Linked DNA regions of Homo sapiens: all the other regions are linked to region 3. The links are contacts of gene promoters, found by promoter capture Hi-C in blood cells and fetal thymus (Javierre and others, 2016). All regions are on one chromosome and are shown on one strand. The core of a region is centred on a gene start or on the middle of the fragment in contact, and the rest is flanking DNA. Distances in the headings are between cores, read along the strand shown.

Region 1 (2,983 bases), core at 79-2,578, 85 kb after region 3:
TATTTCTTTTTGTGGCATCATAATATTCCATTGCATCCTTAGAATTTTATATCCTGAACTAAAAATGTTGTTCTCTGCAATATCAATGCTGCAATAGATATGATGAAGTGACTACATAAATGTATTACCAAAATAATGGCACCCACTCTTACATCACAGGAGGGATGGCTTTACCTGCTCTGTCTTTATTCCTGCTGTCATGTCTAAGCAACTCTAAGTAGCATGGGGCCCATTTTGGCTGAGGTTCCCCCAGAGGCCAAAAAGGTCACTTTGAGTACATCCTTGGATAGCTCCTCTGGTAGAATGGAGGACGGTAGACTGGACACGGGTCACACTGAGGTTCCAGTAACTTCAGGCCTCTTCATCAGAGTGTTGAATAAGAAGCAGAACTTTAGCCTCCAAATAAGGTGTAGTTTTGGCCGGGGACCGGGAAAGCTGAGACACTGCTGGGCTGGGGCCGCCATAGCCCTGGGAACGGAGTATATTCTAGTGAAAGGAGACCAGGTGACTGGCATAGTGACAGCTAAATCTGGAGATATATTCAGAGTTGATGTTGGAGGGAGTGAGCCAGTTTCTTTGTCTTACTTGGCATTTGAAGGTGCAACTAAAAGAAACAGACCAAATGTGCAGGTTGGAGATCTCATCTATGGCCAATTTGTGGTTGCTAATAAAGACATGGAACCAGAGATGGTCTGTATTGACAGCTATGGATGAGCCAATGGAAGGAATGTCATTGGACAGGATGGTCTGCTTTTTAAAGTGACTGGGCTTCATTAGAAAGCTGTTAGCTCCAGATCATGAAATCAAACAGGAAGTGGGAAAACTCTATCCACTGAAGATAGTATTTGGAATGAATGGAAGAGTATGGGTTAAGGGAAAAACCGTCCAGCAGACTTTAATTTTGGCAAATGTTTTAGAAGCTTGTGAACACATGACATTAGATCAAAGAAAACAAATCTCCAGATTGGCAGAAAGTTGATATAGGTGGACTTTTTTAATGGGTCCGTTGAGCCAAGAAACCATGGGTTTCCTGGGGAAAACTTTTTTCAGGTGAACTTCTCCCCATTTAGTTATTCAGAAGACAAGGTATGAAGGTACATATTATCTTATTGGAGTCCTAATTAAAATATTTTTATAAGTAAATTACTGATTTTCACCCATGCTCTTGTGGGAGAGAAAATCATTACAGAATCATGATGTATTTTTTTATTCTGTACAATAACATTTACTAAAACATTTTTTTTAAAGGTGCAGTTTCTAGTGTGCTTTCAAGGATGAGGCAAGAACAGTTCCTACAGCTGAGGCTCTTCTTAGCTAATTGTATTAGTCCATTTTCACACTGCTGATAAAGACATACCCGAGACTAGGCAATTTACAAAAAAGGGGGTTTAATTGGACTTACAGTTCCACATGGCTAGGAGGTCTCACAGTCATGGCGGAAGGCAAGGAGGAACAAGTCCCATCTTATGCGGATGGCGGCAGGCAAAAAGAGAGTTGTGCAGAGAAATTCTCATTTTTTAAACCATCAGATCTCGTGAGTCCCTTTCACTATCAAGACAACAGCCCGGGAAAGACCCGCCCCTAAGATTCAATCATCTCCCACAGGGTCCTCCCACCAGGTCCCTCCCACAACACGTGGGAATTATGAGATTTGGGTGGGGACACAGAGCCAAACCACATCACTAATGCTGAGATGAAGGTGAGCTTTCAGGGCCTGGGGGTCACATGTCCCAGTTCAAGCTTTTCTTCCTTCTGTCACTCATTCAGCACATTGCTCTTTGTGTCAGGAGCTGTGCTGGGTGCCAGGGATTTTGTAATAAACAAAGAGACACGGCCAGGTGCGGTGGCTCACGCCTGTAATCCCAGCACTTTGGGAGGCCGAGGCGGGCGCATCATCTGAGGTCAAGAGTTCGAGACCAGCCTGGAAAACATGGTGAAACCCCATCTCTACTAAAAATACAAAATTATCTGGGCATGATGGCGCATGCCTGTAATCCCAGCTACTTGGGAGGCTGTGACAAGGAGAATCACTTGAACCTGGGAGGCGGAGTTGGCAGTGAGCTGAGATCTCGTCACTGCTTGGGTGACAAGGGTGAAACTCTGTCTCAAAAAAAAAAAAAAAAAAGAGACATGGTCCTGTTTTCATGGGGTGAGCAGTTGAGGGAGAAAGGCAAGCATTAACCAAATAGCCAGACACATCATCATGACCTGTTGTGACAAATGCTATTTTAGAAAAGGGCAGAAGACTGTAACAGTGGAGGGGGCCTAATTTAGCTTGGGGGTGGTGGTTTAATTCTTCCAAAGAGAACCATACTGTAGGGTGAACACTAGGGTATGCACACTAGCTGCACACTAGCTGCACACTAGGGGCCGAGACGCTGAGGTTGCTGAGTGGGAGAGGAAAGGTGTTGATGAGGAGGAAGATGGCCCTGGTTTAAACTGCTGAGAACAGGGTCCTGCACACAGTAGGAGCTCCATGAAGAGTGGTCCCTAGTGTTTTCACCAACATATCTGAAGTGGAGCAGGACGGTGATCAATCACACCCCAGTCCCCGACCTCATTCGGAACTAGTTTGAATCAAGGAGATGCAAAAATCTGACAAGTGTGTTGACAACGGTGATTTTAAAGGTCCTAAAAGATTCTCCAGATATCAGAGCCATTTTCACATAGTAGAAGGGCACATTCCCTGCAGTGGCCTGTGTCATACACAGCCAATTTAACCTTTTCACTGCCTGGTTATTCTGCAAAGTGCATCCTAGAATGCCCTTCCCCTCTGAGCTCCTCTACAAAATTCTGATTCTTTCTCAAACTGTAAAGCCTCTGGCATTTGCCAAGAGCCAAGGCCCTCCTGAAGCCATAGTTTGAGAACAAGCCAAGAGGCAGACATGAGAAAGAAGTACCACTCCTGGCAGGGAGAGCTGACACTTCCTAGGATTCTGCATCCTTCTCAGGGCCCAGAAATGAATGCGAGGTAATTAAAGCA
Region 2 (3,236 bases), core at 123-2,622, 120 kb after region 3:
GTTGCAGTGAGCTGAAATTGCACCACTGTACTCCAGCCTGGGTGACACAGCAAGACCCTGTCAAAAAAAAAAGAAAAAAAGTGGGAGCTAAGCTCTGAGGATGCATAAGCATGGGTGATATAATGGACTTTGGGGACTTGCGGGGAAAGGCTGGGAGGCGGGTAAGGGATAAAAGGCTACATATTGAGTAGAGTGTACACTGCTTGGGTGACAGGTTCACTAAAATCTCAGAAATCAACACTGAAGAACTTATCCTTGTAACAAAAAACCACCTGTACCCCAAAAACTGTTGAAATAAAAAAAGAAGAAAGAGAAAAACAAATAAATAAAAGCTGAACCCAGGAGGCGGAGGTTGCAGTGAGCCGAGACTGCACCACTGCACTCCAGCCTAGGTGACGGAGACTCTGTCTCAAAAAAAAAAAACTTAAAAAATTTAAAAAAGAAAATGATGCAGGCACTGCAAATAGAACATACTTGGGTGCATGTCGGGGAAAGCGGAGGGGGAGACACCAGGGTCCATGACCCCATGGCATGAGGACATGATTGTGGAGCCGCTCTCTTGCTGTCCACAAAGTCACTGTAAAAGCAAAGTGCCAAACATTTTCAGTGAGGGCCTTTTTGCTCATTGGTCATGACTGGTGTCAGGCAACCCTTGGAAATTTCCTCACGACCTTAGAGGGACAGCATCACCTGCAGTTTCTATGGCAGAGATTCCATAGTAGGTTGAACACTGCTCCCCCAAATACACGTCTTCCTGGAACCTCAGAATGTGACCTTATTTGGAGACAGGGTCTTCACAGTTATAATTAGTTAAGATGAGGTGGCACTGATGGGCTCTAACTCCAATGACTGGCGGCTTTCTAAGAAGGGGGAAGACAGACAGACACACAGAGAAGAATGCCACGTGACTAGAGAGGCAGAGACTGGAGTGACGCAGCCACAAACCAAAAGTGCAAAGGATTGCCAGGGGCCACCAGGTGCCGGAAGAGGCAAGGCAGGACCCCCTTCTTGGTCTTCAGAGGGAGCACAGCCCTGCCAACACCTTTATTTGAGACCCCTGGCCCCCAGAACTGGGAGAGAATAAATTTCTGTTGTTTTAAGCCACACCATTTGTGGTCATTAGTTATGGCAGCCACAGAAACTAGCACAGAAGCTTCCAGAGCTGCTCCCAAGAGTGGAAGTGGCACAAGGCGAGGCATGGACTAGTCACAGATCCCCAGCCAGAAGCAGGGGACACATTCACACTGGGATGACTCAAGGAACTGTATGTACAAAGCACGAGCTGAGCCCTGCTCTGTGCCAGACACCATGCTGGGTGGAGGCCAGGAGTTGCTGGAAAAGCTGTAACAACCAGCAACCCCAGGTGTGGGCAGAGAAGTGCTGATTTGTAGCATCTGCCAATTTCTGTGGTGTAAATACTCCCTCCTTGGCCAACGCGAGTGTAACACAACGTCCTTCATATAGTGTTTCTACCCTACAGGTACAATCAATGTCAATGACCTCAAGACAATAGTAAAATAAGGTGAAATAATTAGGAAATGTTGAGTTTTGAGAATTGACAGCCTTTGTGCCTAATATAATCTATTTAATTGTAAGCTTCTGTAATTTAGTATTTCATGGTGACTGTGTTTAACAACCAATTTGCAAAAATTCCTGAATGTTTAACCATCAGCTGCCATGAGCCAGAGCTGGCTACAAGAAGTAGAGCAGTAAAGATGGCAGACGGCTAACATAACCTCAACTAGGTGGGGCCTGGAATGCAGCAATCTGGCTCCAATAGGATGCTTTTGGGTAGATGTGCCTGGAGCACCTCCACCTCTGAGGCCCGCAAAGCTGCCCCAGAGGAAGGGTGGCCTGCAGAGCAGCCTCTGCATCAGCTCTCAGCTGGTCCAGGGCACAGCATCAGTTGAAGAACACTGACTATGCCCAGTCACATCAGCTTCCAACTGTGAGCTCTCAGGAGACCTGTTGATGCAGAGATTCCTGGAGGTGGTACCAAAAAAGCCAGGAGCAGGTGGGCACTGGTGCACATACAATACACATATAGACACACACACACCATGCACAGAACATACAGACACATGCATGCACAGAACATGTAGATAGGTACACACACATGCACAGAGCACGCAGACACACACACATGCACAGAACATGCAGATACACACACATGCACAAACACACTCCTGTTACGGTTTGGCTGTGTCCCCACCCAAATCTCATCTTGAATTCCCATGTGATGGGGGAGGGACCCGGTGGGAGGCAATTAAATCATGGGGGCTGGTCTTTCCTGTGCTGTTCTCGTGATAGTGAATAAGTCTCATGAGATCTGATCACTTTTTAAGGGGAAGTTTCTCGGCACAAGCTCTCTCTTTGCCTGCCGCCATCCATGTAAGATGTGACTTGCTCCTCCTTGCCTCCCGCCATGATTGTGAGGCCTCCCCAGCCATGTGGAACTGTAAGTCTAATAAACTTCTTTCTTTTGTAAATTGCCCAGTCTTGGCTATGTCTTTATCAGCAGTGTGAAAACGGACTAATACAACTCCTTTTTGCATTTTTGCCACAACAGTTTCCTTCAGTACAACAGCTACTTTTTAAGGAGTGCTTTCTGTCAGGGACCAGGCCAGGCACTAGGAATATTCACATGAAGAAGGCAAAGCCCAGGACCTTCCATCAGTTGGTGAGGCCTGTGATTGGCCACAGCTGCCTGCGTCTCATTCTGCCGCTGATCTAAGGAAGCCCTTCATTGCCACATATCTCAGCCTTAATCTCCATTGTCAGCTCTCTCCATCCTGAAGGTGAGAGGTGGTTGCTAGTTACTTTAGAGCTAGGATGGGAAACAGGGTTTGATTTCTACAGCCCTCACAAATACCTGCATTTGGCATTGCGCACAATTCGTGATGTAGATGCAACATGAAGTGAGGTGAAAATTGGTAGGCTGGGCATGTCAGCTCATGCCTGTAATGCCAGCACTTTGGGAGGCTGAGCTCAGGAGTTTGAGACCAGCCTGGGCAACATGGTGAAACCCTATCTCTACCCAAAGTACAAAAAATTAGCTGAGCACTACCGCGCACTTGTAGTCCCAACTACTCGGAAGGCTGAGGTGGGAGGATTGCTTCAGCCAGGGAGGTGAAGTTTGCAGTGATCCAAGGTTGAAACACTGCATTCCAGCCTGGGTGACAGAGTGAGACAGGGAGGGAGGGAGGGAGGGAGGGAGGGAGGGAGGGAGGGAGGAA
Region 3 (3,074 bases), core at 272-2,771:
CAGGAGGGACCCGAGTTTTGGACAAACATTACTTACCCTGTGGCTCCTAAGTGCTGGGCATCCTTACCCACACTCCCAGCTTCAGTTTCCCTAACCTAGAGAGCGCACACTAATATTTATGTTCAAATGTTATTGGGGAGGTTGAGTTTTTATTTAATATTTGAATGTAGATTTTAAAAATCATTATGCCAGACAGGCTGGGCCTCACTCGATAAACACTGATGTTTAGCATTTAACACACTTTTCCCCAGACTGGAAGAAGAGGCCGAGATCCCAATTCGGTGACCCAGCCCTTGCTGGAGTACTAGGTGGTATCTAATGCCATCCACCCTTCCGGGATCTTTACGGCCCACCTCTGAGTGGGTCCCACGGGGACCCTCAGCCGCATTTTCTTTCTGCAGGCCTCCCTGCACACTCTGGGGCGTTCGCAGCTCTGGAGCCCGCGGGGCAGTGCGTCCGGCCCCGCCCTGGGCCTCATTATCTACGTTTCCGCGTCACGCCCGCCGCGAACTTGGCAGGCCCTCCCGCCGGGTTCGGGAACACTGTGTGCCTAGCGCCCGCCCTCCTCCCTTCCGCCGGCCCCGCGCGATCCATAGGGTTTGGGTCGCTGGGCGCCAGGTACCCGCACCCGGCAAGCAGCCACGGAGCCCCTCGCGCACTTGTCCTCGATACCCTTGAGTTGGGGCTACGCAGGCCACTCCTAGGCCACTGGCTGGGCGTCCGAACGTGGGTCACCCCGCGCACAGTCTAGAGGTTCAGAAAGATGCTGTGGCCCACTTTAAAACAAAGCCCAATTATTAGCGCTCGGCGGCTGTTTGCGCCGGTGCAGTGTCAGATCCCCCAGCGCTGCGGACAACCAGCACCCAAAGGAAGCCGAGCTGGAGCTAAAGATCCCGGCTCCGGAGCCATCTGACCGGTTTTGAGACCTCCAGCTCGTCGCCGTCCTGGCTGCGAGAGCTTGGGCACGGCGCCGGGGCTCAGTCTCCTCTTCTGTGGAATGGCGATAACTGTATGTGCCGGGTGACTGCACGTGGCGCGCGGCGGGTGGCGGGGATGGCAGCGGTGCGATCCCACGCCTCCAGGACCCCACCTTCCTGCGGCCCCCGATCGGCCCCGCCCCGGGGGCGCCCCAGCTGCACGCGCGGCGCTGGCTCCAAAGTGCGTCACGGGCACCGGCCGCGCTCCTTCTGCCGCCAGGGCGAGGCTGGCACCCGGCCAGCGCGGGCAGGGCCACGGGTGCCCGGCTGTTTCCCGGGTGTGGAAGGCGCTCAAGGTGCGCGGCCCGGGGCGCGCTACTGGGGGCGCCCTCCGCGGTGGGCAGCGCGCCAGGGATCGGCCTGGGCAGCCGCGGGGCGCGCGAAGGCTGCGCTTTCCCTACGGCCCCCCTCGCTTCCTCCGGCACGGCGGCAACGGAGATTTCCTCTCGGGGAAACTACGCGGATCCTTTTCGGGGATCCTCGCCCCGCCCCAGTTCTCCGCCCCCTCCCCTTTGCTGGGGCGCCTGGGCTGGCCCGCGCAGGGGAGGAGGCTCTGGCAGCCTGGGCAGGGAGGCGGCGGGGGGCCGCGGAGCCGCTGGCCATCGATTCTCCCCGCCATGTGACGCCGTCCTTAGCCCTGCGACCCCCAGCGCGTCCCGGGCCTGCGCCTCCGCCCCGCCGCGCAGCGCACGATGCTTCTGCCGGGACGCGCACGCCAACCGCCGACGCCCCAGCCCGTGCAGCATCCCGGCCTCCGCCGGCAGGTAGAGCCGCCGGGGCAGCTCCTGCGCCTCTTCTACTGCACTGTCCTGGTCTGCTCCAAAGAGATCTCAGCGCTCACCGACTTCTCTGGTAAGAGCGCCCTCCCTGGCTGTGTGCCCCCGGCACCGCGGAGCGCCCAGGTGAACCCTCGACTGGGGGCAGCCGCACCAGTGGACACGGCGGGGTAGGATTAAAGTTGAGGCGTGCTCACAGACACTTGTCTGGTGTGAGCCCTTGGCATATAGATGGCTGCGAGTGAAGTGGCGACGGGGGACTGCCACTCCCAAGAAGGAAGGGTGTGTAATGTATTCAGAGTTTCTCGCCCTGCTGTTGACCTCGTCAATTTCCTAGCATTAGGGACCTGGTCCTGAGCCACGCTCGTTCTATGGAGGCTCCTTAAACTGAGCCCTGTGCCGCGCCCAGCGCTGTAAAATACACGTGTTGTGGTCGGAGGCGTTGCGCCGCGTTTGTCACCCGCGTAGCCCGTTTGCCCATGTAAGGAGACTAGCCCAGGGGACACTTGACCTCGAGTCCACATTGGCAGGTAGAAAGGGAAGCCCGCGGGGACTGGAGGTCTGGTGGAAAGGCAGTGAGGGATGAGGAGATACTTAGATAAGAGAGAGGAGCCTCTCTGCCAAAGTGTACCAGGGTCCTCCCTCTCCAATTCCAGTTTCCTTCACAGAAAATAATGACTTCCTACTCTCGAATAAACTAGGAGGCTTTTCTTTTTGGGAATCGTGATCCAGGCTCTCGCAGCGGATCTCAGATAGTTCTGAGCTTACAGGTGTGACGCCCCAAAGTGAAAGGGATTTCTAGGTTGACGATAGCCATAGGAGCACATGCTTAAGTTAGCGCTGCAGTTGCTTAAGGTAACACATGTCCTTGCCGCTGAAGCACACCTGGATCTCCCTCTGGCAAGGCTGGAGGCCTTCAGCCTTCCCCAGCCCAGCTTAGGGAGCAGCTCTGAGCCCCATACTCCTCCTTCTCCAGGGATCTTCTGCCAAGTTCAGGCTTTGCACAGTCGGTCCCTATCGGGTCCTCAGTGCAGAGTCTTTTGCAACATAATGGTGGTAAAGGGAGTCCTCCTCAGTCCTGTTTGTGCAGTAGGCTAGTACATAGCAAAGAACAAGGGCAAACCAGAAGTTGAGATGGGGTTCTAGTTTACTTACAGAGAATGTCATTGTTAGTGGAGAGCCCTTAGGTCAGAGGTTCTTTGCTTTGAATATGTAATATCAAGGCAGTATTCCTACCTAGCAAAGGAAGCCAAGATAAGGCCTATTTGGCAAGCCACCCACGGCCCTTAAAATCAAGCATCCCAGGATCAGAACTCTGTGG
Region 4 (3,245 bases), core at 265-2,764, 100 kb after region 3:
AAGTAGGGCTATGTATTGACCAATGAAGAGAATGTCTCATGTCCTAAGGATTATGGGTAATTTAATTCAGTCCACCAGGAATCCTCAAAATATGAAAAAAGAGGTACAGTAGCAAGTCCATAGTTACCGGCTGTGGCACCCTACTCCCTTCTTGGAACCTGAAACGTCCCCATTCGACTTCCTTCACTTATAGCTCAAGTCGCTGCTGGAATTGACTGCTGGAATTGATTGCTCTGCTGTGACCCTACTCTGTCTGCCCTGGGTACCCGGCCCCTCCCACGACACCACCACTGGGAGAGGAGGGGAGGGGGCCACGGATGACCATTGTACCTCAGAGGCTTGAGCTGGATGGAATTGTTTCTGTCCAGATCTGTCCCTGGCCTGACCATGGGTGGCTGGAAAAGACTATAAATGGATGGGATTCAGCTTCCTCACACTCAGCACTCCTTGAGGTCGGCAGCATCACTGGCAGTGGGGCTCAAAGTTTATATTTTCCAAGACAGAGAAGTTGAGTTGTGGCCCACCTTGAAAGCCCTAACAGCATCACAGAAGGAGAGGGTTTGGAGAGGACAGTGGCTCAAAGATTTCGGGGGAGAGGAGGGCTGCAGGATGGGGAGGAAAGGAGGGAAATTCAAAGGGGAGGAAGATGAAAGTGAAGTCGGGAGAGATGAAGCTTTGATCTGCATATTACTTACAGTATACAGGCTTCCATCTGTATAATACTTACAATAATATAGTAAGTATTATAATACTTACAATAATATAATAAGCATTATAATACTTACAATAATATAGTTGTTATTATTGTAATATAGTTGTTACTATATTATTGTAAGTATTATAATACTTACAATGATATAATATCATTATAGTAGTATTATAATACTTACTATATTATTTTATTTTATTTATTTATTTTTTTGAGATGGAGTCTCACTCTATTGCCCAGGCTGGAGTGCAGTGGCGTGATCTCGGCTCACTGCAAGCTCCACCTCTCGGGTTCACGCCATCCTCCTGCCTCAGCCTCCTGAGTAGCTGCGACTACAGGCGCCCGCCACCACACCCGGCTAGTTTTTTTTTTGTACTTTTGGTACAGACGGGGTTTCACCATGTTAGCCAGGATGGTCTCGATCTCCTGACCTCGTTATCTCCTGCCTCGGCCTCCCAAAGTGCTGGGATTACAGGCGTGAGCCACCGTGCCCGGCCAATACTTATTATATTATTAATATTTATAAATAATATACATATTTATATTATTTATTTTAATATTTTTCTTTTCTTTTTTTTTTTTTTTTTTTGAGGCAGGGTCTCACACTATTACCTAGGTTGGAGTATGGTGATATGATCTTGACCTCCCAGGCTCAAGTGATCCTCCCACCTCAGCTTCCCTAGTAGCTAGGACTACAAGCACGCACCACCATGCCCAGATATATTTTGGTATTTTTTTAAATAGACATGGGGTTTCACCATGTTGCCCAAGCTGGTCTTGAACCCCTGAACTCAAGCAATCCACCCACCTTGGCCTCCCGAAGTGTTGGGATTACCAGCGTGAGCCACGACACCCAGCATATTTTTGTATTTTATATTACAGTTGGCCTTCTGTATCCATGGATTCCTCATCTATGGGTTCAACCAACCTCAGACTGAAAATATCTTTTTAAAATGGATAGTTGCATCTTTACCAAACATGTACAGACATTTTTTCTCCTGTCATTATTCCCAAAACAATACATGGTAACAACTACTTACCTAGCATTTCCATTGCATTAGCTATTACAAGTAATCTAGAAGTGATTTAAAGAATAGGGGAGAATGTGCTTAGGTTTTATGCAAATTCTGTGCCATTTCATATAAGTGACTCAAGCGTCCGTGAATTTTGGTAGCCTGGGAGTGTGGGGGAGGGGTCCTGGAACCAGTCCCCCACGGGTACCAAGGGATGACTGTATATTTATATTTACTTTTTAATCTGAAAAAGGACAGAATTAAGTTTTGCTAACATCTATTATATTATTACTTAGGTTCACATATATACTTCGTACATAAGTTAATTCTTCATGAGCTACTTCTACTACTAATAATAGCAGCACTTTATTGAGCATTTACTATGTGTCAGGGAATATTCTAAGAGCTTTATAGGAATTAACTCATTTCACTGTAATGACTCTGTGATAGAAGATACTATATGCCCCATTTTACAGATGAGGAAACTAAGGCACAGAAAGGTTATGAAACTTGCCCAAAGTCACACAGCTACTGAGTGGCAGACCTGAGTTTGAACTCAGAGGAGTCTGGCTCCTGAGCCCCTCTGCTGTGTGTTTTTCTCCTACACATACATATATTGACTCCGTAGGCGCAAAAGCTTTTTTGAAAAAAAATGTCAGTGGGGATATATGATTATTTTGGTGTAGACAGTCTCAAAGATGCTGGACTGGCATTCTTCATTAGCCCCCTGCTTGGGCAGACATCTGTTTCTGTGGGACTTGGCACTGGTGGAGTCTGCCAGCTCCTCCCAGCTCCTGACATGTTCTCTTCCTCCTGCAGCCCACCCGGAGAGAGCTGCCCTGCTGTTCGTGTCCAGTGTCTGCATCGGCCTGGCCCTCACACTGTGCGCCCTGGTCATCAGAGAGTCCTGTGCCAAGGACTTCCGCGACTTGCAGCTGGGGAGGGAGCAGCTGGTGCCAGGAAGTGACAAGGTCGAGGAGGACAGCGAGGATGAAGAAGAGGAGGAGGACCCCTCTGAGTCTGATTTCCCAGGGGAACTGTCGGGGTTCTGTAGGACTTCATATCCTATATACAGTTCCATAGAAGCTGCAGAGCTCGCAGAAAGGATTGAGCGCAGGGAGCAAATCATTCAGGAAATATGGATGAACAGTGGTTTGGACACCTCGCTCCCAAGAAACATGGGCCAGTTCTACTGAAAACCACATGCATCTTGATGCGATCGCACTTTCTGAAGAAGGAAGGATCCCAAATGCCCCTCCAGTTCTGGTTCACCTGTACCTTCTATGAAGGAGAATTCGTCATGTCATTCAACACTCGTGAGGCCAGGAAGCTATTAAAGGGATGTTTCAAGCTGTTTCTAGCACATTCCAAAATAAATGAGGAGGGAAGAGTCTTTGTTTTCTGTATTTCTTTGAATTTGTGTCTATACATTAATAAGTTATACATAATTAGAATTTACATTTGTTGAGCGCTTATAATGCCAGGCGCTATTCTAACTGCTTTTCATGTTCTGAGTCATTCAA

Evidence for each region. The method cuts DNA at HindIII sites, captures the fragments that hold promoters and counts their contacts. A CHiCAGO score of 5 or more calls a contact.
Region 1: a contact is called between a fragment that was not itself captured here and the fragment with the promoter of EVA1C in region 3, in 1 of 17 cell types (endothelial precursors). The highest score is 7.0, in endothelial precursors.
Region 2: a fragment that was not itself captured here is called in contact with the fragment with the promoter of EVA1C in region 3 in 1 of 17 cell types (megakaryocytes); the score reaches 5.0 in megakaryocytes.
Region 4: a contact is called between a fragment that was not itself captured here and the fragment with the promoter of EVA1C in region 3, in 2 of 17 cell types (megakaryocytes and endothelial precursors). The highest score is 9.0, in megakaryocytes.

What each region holds. Positions count from the first base shown.
Region 1 is chr21:32,496,333-32,499,315 of GRCh38, forward strand. The region is part of intron 5 of EVA1C (eva-1 homolog C); the gene reads left to right. It also overlaps the pseudogene EXOSC3P1. Among named protein-coding and RNA genes, the nearest start is that of EVA1C, 85 kb to the left of the region's middle. RefSeq lists a silencer at 1,550-1,718. The HindIII fragment of the contact is 820 bases long and covers 919-1,738 here.
Region 2 is chr21:32,528,628-32,531,863 of GRCh38, forward strand. No RefSeq gene overlaps it. Among named protein-coding and RNA genes, the nearest start is that of TCP10L, 55 kb to the right of the region's middle. The HindIII fragment of the contact is 443 bases long and covers 1,152-1,594 here.
Region 3 is chr21:32,411,185-32,414,258 of GRCh38, forward strand. It overlaps EVA1C (eva-1 homolog C), which reads left to right and starts at 1,522. Exons shown (of 8, transcript NM_058187.5): 1 at 1,522-1,829. The coding sequence starts at 1,670. The HindIII fragment of the contact is 8,620 bases long and covers 1-3,074 here.
Region 4 is chr21:32,512,273-32,515,517 of GRCh38, forward strand. EVA1C (eva-1 homolog C) reads left to right here. Exons shown (of 8, transcript NM_058187.5): 8 at 2,542-3,115. The coding sequence ends at 2,918. Among named protein-coding and RNA genes, the nearest start is that of TCP10L, 72 kb to the right of the region's middle. The HindIII fragment of the contact is 1,686 bases long and covers 672-2,357 here.